2 separate regions of the Homo sapiens genome follow, and region 1 is linked to region 2. The links are contacts of gene promoters, found by promoter capture Hi-C in blood cells and fetal thymus (Javierre and others, 2016). All regions are on one chromosome and are shown on one strand. Each heading gives the region's core, a stretch centred on a gene start or on the middle of the fragment in contact. The rest is flanking DNA. Distances are from core to core; before and after follow the strand shown. Region 1 overlaps ARHGEF7 (Rho guanine nucleotide exchange factor 7). Region 2 holds the start of ATP11A (ATPase phospholipid transporting 11A).

The links. The method cuts DNA at HindIII sites, captures the fragments that hold promoters and counts their contacts. A CHiCAGO score of 5 or more calls a contact.
Region 1: a fragment that was not itself captured here is called in contact with the fragment with the promoter of ATP11A in region 2 in 1 of 17 cell types (M2 macrophages); the score reaches 5.6 in M2 macrophages.

Annotation. Positions count from the first base shown.
Region 1 is chr13:111,281,929-111,284,685 of GRCh38, reverse strand. It overlaps ARHGEF7 (Rho guanine nucleotide exchange factor 7), which reads right to left. Exons shown (of 22, transcript NM_001354046.2): 16 at 1,323-1,547. Among named protein-coding and RNA genes, the nearest start is that of TEX29, 37 kb to the left of the region's middle. The HindIII fragment of the contact is 4,043 bases long and covers 1-2,757 here.
Region 2 is chr13:112,688,788-112,691,591 of GRCh38, reverse strand. It overlaps ATP11A (ATPase phospholipid transporting 11A), which reads right to left and starts at 1,554. Exons shown (of 30, transcript NM_015205.3): 1 at 1,137-1,554. The coding sequence starts at 1,175. It overlaps LOC102725228 (a long non-coding RNA gene), which reads left to right and starts at 1,777. Exons shown (of 2, transcript NR_187633.1): 1 at 1,777-1,929; 2 at 2,723-2,804. RefSeq lists silencers at 762-1,001, 1,022-1,951 and an enhancer at 2,200-2,717. The HindIII fragment of the contact is 3,702 bases long and covers 1-2,804 here.

The sequences.
Region 1 (2,757 bases), core at 178-2,677, 1.4 Mb after region 2:
CCTTCTCTCCCAGTGTGGAGTTGGCAAAGCAAATGCAGCCAGACTTATCAAAAAAAATTGTTTATCTTCACTTCAATACCCCTTCCGTTGCCCTTTCTACTTCTTTGCCCAACAGTTTTATCCCAATTTTCTTCCCTAGTAATTCAGTCTCCACCAGTTCTTGTAGTAGCTCACTTTTTCTTTAGACTGTGCACACTAAAGTATACAATAAGGAACAGCAACATTCTTCAAGTAACTTCCCATGATAGAAAATGGAAATTCTGACTTGCACACATGATTACCTGAAAGATATCATAAAAACAAAGACTCAGAACAAAAAATGAAAAGCACAGATCCTAATTTCTCATACAGTACTTTCCTGTGGGCCTTAAAACCCCCAGGGCTGCCGGCAAGAATGTAGAAAAAGTCTGCTCCAGTTCCCTTGGCAAATGTGGCCTTGACCAGACACAGAGGCACAATGCCAGGCAAGAGCGTGTCACCATCCTCACGCTCACTCACACCCCACCAACGGGCACTGCTGCTCACACTGACGCGCACGATACCCACACTCTCACCGCCACTCCTCATACCTCACCACCATGCACGCTCAACTGCTTATGAAAACAACTCTCATCTCAATTATCAGCTTCCTCAGGTGAAAGTACTTCTCAGAACAGATTTCTAAAGACACTTCCTTTCCTCATCCAAGCTGGTTTAGGTAAAAGTGTAAGGAAGTGTTAACACTTCTATTTATTCATTGGAATCGTACTTTATTTGCGCCTAGCAAATATAAAAATGCCGGATGAGAACAGAGACAAGCAAAGACCGCATCATGATTTCTTATGCATCAAAGGGGGAAACCGCCTAAGTGATTGTTTTTCATTTGTATTAGTAAATGTTCTCTTCATCTCAAATGGCTTCTGGATGACAAAATGCAGGGCTCCTGGACAGGATCCCCAACCTAGAGGAGGGGTCGTTAGACGCAGCAGACAGCGTGCAGATGCTGAGCGATGGCCTCACACACAGGGAGTGAAAGCCACCTGGGCTCAGCGCCTTTCCAGCTCCTGGCCCCTGGCGGCACACTCCTCCGGCAAGTGCAGTAAAGGCCCCCCTGTGCATGGCAGAAAGGAGGGGGACCCTGCACATCGCCTTCCCACACAGGTTACCACGGGCCTCTCAGCAGCAGAGCAGATAACCAGAGAACCAAGGCAGACCCCCCCTTCTCAGTTCTCTAGGAGTTAGGGTGCATTTTGCTGTACACAGAAGGCCCAGCACGTGGGCACACCCAGGGCCCGAGGCATGCTCACCGTCATCTGGCTGTTTGAGTGGTCAAGGGACCTCACCTCCTTGTAGCAGAGAGCAGCTGAGGGCCGGAGGGGAGGCGCGGGCCGCAGGCAGCTCAGGCTCCAGGGCTTGGGTGTTTTCGGAGGCTCCAGGGGTCCCCAGTTGATGGTGGTGTGCGGGGTGCCGTGGTGGGAGGGGTGGGGCAGCGTGTGGTAGGCGGGCGTCAGCGGCGCGGGCTTGCTGTCTGCGTGCTTGCTGGACGGAGTGACCGGGTGGGAGGGGAGCTGCCAAGGGCACAGAGCGGGAAGGGCAGAGAACATGAGACTCGCGTGCTCACCGCGAAAGGGCACTTATCACGCACTTCCTTCTGCTCTTTAAACACTCCATGTGAAATAAACCTCAGGATTTATCATTTCATTCGTATCTCTGGCTCTCAGCAGTCAGTTTTTGGGGCCAAACACTAGCTCGCGCCACCTGGGCCGAGCGTGGGGCTCCTCACGGCGTCTGCCCCAGACAGGAGGGGCAGCTCTAGCTGGGGCCCCAGCACTCAAAAGACATCCACTAGCCACATTTATTAGCTACGGAGTAACATTTATAGAAAAAAGGTACTTCATCTAGTAAAAAGATGAGAATTTCACAAAAGCACACAGGGCATGTGGCTGTAAGAAGGAAGGTGATTCCCCCCCAGCCACGTATTATTCTTCACCTGGTGATAAAGTACTGGGCGAAACTAAGGCCTGATCGCCTAGTTTTGTTTTTTAAAAAAGTTTTCCTGGCACACAGGCAGGCCTGTGCCTGTCTAAAACTGCTGTTGTGTTCCAAGGGCAGAGTACAGCTGCAAGAGGCCTGAACCTGTAAAGCAGAGAACGTTTACCATCTGGATCTTTACTGAACACTGCCAAACCCTGGTATTAAAACCAATTATGTTCTTAGAAAACTCAACTTTAATCAAAACAAAGTTAATCAAAAATTAACTTCTTAGAGCGGTGTGCCATTAATGCATTTTATATTCCTGGAAAACCCAAAATATTCCATCACAATGACAGTTAAATGAGAAAAGTTAAATAAGTCATTCTCAAAATCAGCCAATAATGACCTCAAATTAGCCAACAATAGTAAGGTGCATTTAATGGGAGAACAAGCTGTGTGGCGCTGTGAACTGGAAACGGAGTGGGGCCGGCATTCTGAGGAAGTGCGCGACCTTCAAAACACAGGCTGAGAGGGACGGCAGCTAATGCCACAATTTCAAGAATAGAAGCCATCAACTTCCTGCAACGATCACATTCTAGTCCCTGCATGGGGGAGGGAATTGTGTGAGATGCAGGTCATGCTATGAAGCCACTGTAAGGTCATCTTTTCATAGGAAATAATGTATAGATGGATAAAATTATGTAAGACATCCCTTCTAGCAACAACGTCAAAGCAGTGTCTGGTTTTGTTTCTCCTTTCTTGAAAAAGTCAAAGGAAGTATGCTTTATGCTAAAATTAGAAAAT
Region 2 (2,804 bases), core at 305-2,804:
CGCCAGCCTCTATGGAACAATGAAGCCTCTTGTGCAAGACAGTGGCAGGAAACGCTGTGCTTGGGACAGTTTTCTTCCTCTCCTACACACACACACACACACACACACCCTTTTTTTTTTTTTTTTTTGATACAGAGTCTCGCTCTGTCACCCAGGTTGGAGTGCAGTGGCTCGATCTCGGCTCATTGCAACCACCGCCTCCCGGGTTCAAGCGATTCTCCTGCCTCAGCCTCCTGAGTAGCTGGGATCCCAGGCGCCTACCACCACGCCCGGCTAATTTTCGTATTTTTTAGCAGAGACGGGGTTTCACCATGTCGGTCCGGCTGGTCTCAAACTCCTGACCTCGTGATCCGCCCGCCTCGGCCTCCAAAAGTGCTGGGATTACAGGCGTGAGCCACCGCGCCCGGCCACACACCCCTTTTTACACCTAACGCCAGGGATTCCGGTTTCCCCTCCTCTGGTGTAAAACAAAATCAACTTTTCCCCTTCCGAGTCTTCCCTCCTGAGCTCTTCACTTGCTTATCACTGAAGGGGCAAATTCCAGAGGAACCCAAGAAGACCCCGGACTTCTGATCTAATTGGTTACTTTAAGGTAAAAAATAAAAAGATTCCAAACTCCGCTTCTGAATCCCCCAGGGGTGTTAAAGAACAAACACAATTGCTACCTTTTTCTGCAGAAGTGTAACGCTTCCTCCCAATCCCTTAATCTTACAGACACGGCTGCGCGGAAGCCGCATCTGAAGGTTCCTCCCCAGACCCGGGCCCCGGCGGGGTCGAAGTTGGCTCCCTCCGGGCGCCCGGTCCGCCGGGACAGCTCGAACCCCAGCCAGCCTCTCCGAGGGACCCCCAGGGCGCTGCGGGCGGGAAGGGGGCGCCAGGCGGCCGCGGCCAGGGAGCAGGTGGCCGCCCGGGGCTGGGGCCCCGCGCTGTGCCCACCTAGACCCCGTCGGAAGCCCCAGGGTGTCAACTCCGAGGCCCCTCCCCAGCATCCCGCTCGTCCCCGGGGGCGGTCCGAGTCCCAGACATCGGAGACCTCCCGGGACCCCGGGGCTGGACCGGCCACAGGGTCCGGGCTGCGGGGCCGGCCCGCGTCTGTCTGGTCCCCGGGTCCCCCAGCCCGCGCCGGGAGCACTCACGTATCTGTGCACGAGCGTCCGCACGAGGCTGCAGTCCATGGCTCCTCCGGCCGCTCCCGCTCCGCCGTTCAGCGCCCCCGCGCCCGGCTCGGCGCGCCCATGGGCTCCGGGGTACTAGTGCGGCCGCGCCCCCCGCTCCGGTCACGGCCTCGGCGCGCCGGGCGGTGCAGGGGGCGGCCGCGGCCCCTCCGCGCTCATGCCCGGCCCGGCCGGCGAATGCTGGGTCCGCGGCCCCGCGCGTCGGCAGCTGCTCCACTGGCGGCAAGGCTGCTGCTCGGGGCCGCGCGCGCGCGCTCTGGCGCCTTCTCTCTCCCCGTCGGTCCGCCCGCTCGGTTGGGCTCGGCTGGAGCACCCCGGCCGCGGCGGAGCCTGCGCTCTGCTCCTCCCGAGTCTCCTCCTCCCCTGCCCGCCGCCCTCTGGAGCCTCCGGGCCCCGCTGGCTCCTGCCCCTGCTCCGGGCGCGCACGTCACCGGCGCAAGTGAGCATGCGCCCCGCGGCCGCAGCCCCCGCCGGCCCCGCGCCCACACCCGCGCTCGCACCCGCGCGCCGGCCCTGCCCCCTCGCGCCTCCGCCCGGGCCCCAGACCCTGGGGGCAGAGGGCAGAGGGCAGAGGTCAGAGGCCGCGGGGAGGAACCCCCCTGTTGCTTCCGCCTCCCGGGGCGCAGGCGCTGGGCGCGGCGGGGAAGGGACTCGGCACTGGGGAAACCCGGAGTTTCAGCCAGGGTCCCAGGGCTTCCTTCCCGGGTTCCTGCCGGAAAACTTTTCTCCTCCGCCCGGAAGCCTCGATGGGGCAGTGAGATCGCGGGGCGAGGTGGGAGTGTGGGAGGGGGCCGCGGGCAGAGAGCGGGAGTCCGGCTGGGTGGGAGATCTCCTGAGCCGAAGCTGGGTCTCGCCCCAGCGTGGCGCCACCGACCCGCAGGCTTTTCCTGCTCTGCAGATGGAGAGACACAGGGACGCTCCTCAGGTGGCTGCCCTGGGCTGCCAGCCTGTCAGTGGGAGGGGAGGGTGCAGACAAGAGGCCCCTGTTTCCGAAACCCCTCTGTCCCCAAAGCTGCGACAGCAGAAGACACTTAGGCGGCCTGAGGGGTTGGTGAACCACAGAGGAGCTCAGCTTCGCCTGGTCTCCAGCTCCCGGTGGCGGTGGCGTGTCCTTAATGCTGCTGGCTTTGAACTGGACTGAGAACTATTTACCACACAAACACCACCATTTCAATCCCGGAGAATGCCTGTTTTCCCTAGGGTGACCTGGCCGGGGTAACAAACACTTGTTCTCTAATTCCACGGTCAGCCTTGACTTAATTGAGGTACTTGATTTCCAACTTCCTGTCTTGCTGCCACAGATAATCACTGATGAAACCAAACAGGCAACACCTTTTGGTGGCCTGTGGAGAGCGCTGCCCCGTCTGGGTCTTAGGAAGGCAATTGAATATGAATGTTCTCCCGAGTGCTTGTGGAAAAGAGATGGTGTTGGCCACTTTTTAGACGAAGAGAAATGAGTACTAGTGAACACTAATCATAGTGACTAAACAGTAAACGGCTCCCATTTGTTGTCGGCTAAAGCACTGATTCTTCATTTTCCATCCCAGCCTGTCCTGCTCTGGCCTGCCCTGTGCTCAGGAAGCTGGCGGTCCCCCTCAGTGGATCTTCACCCACAGGGACAACCTGCTG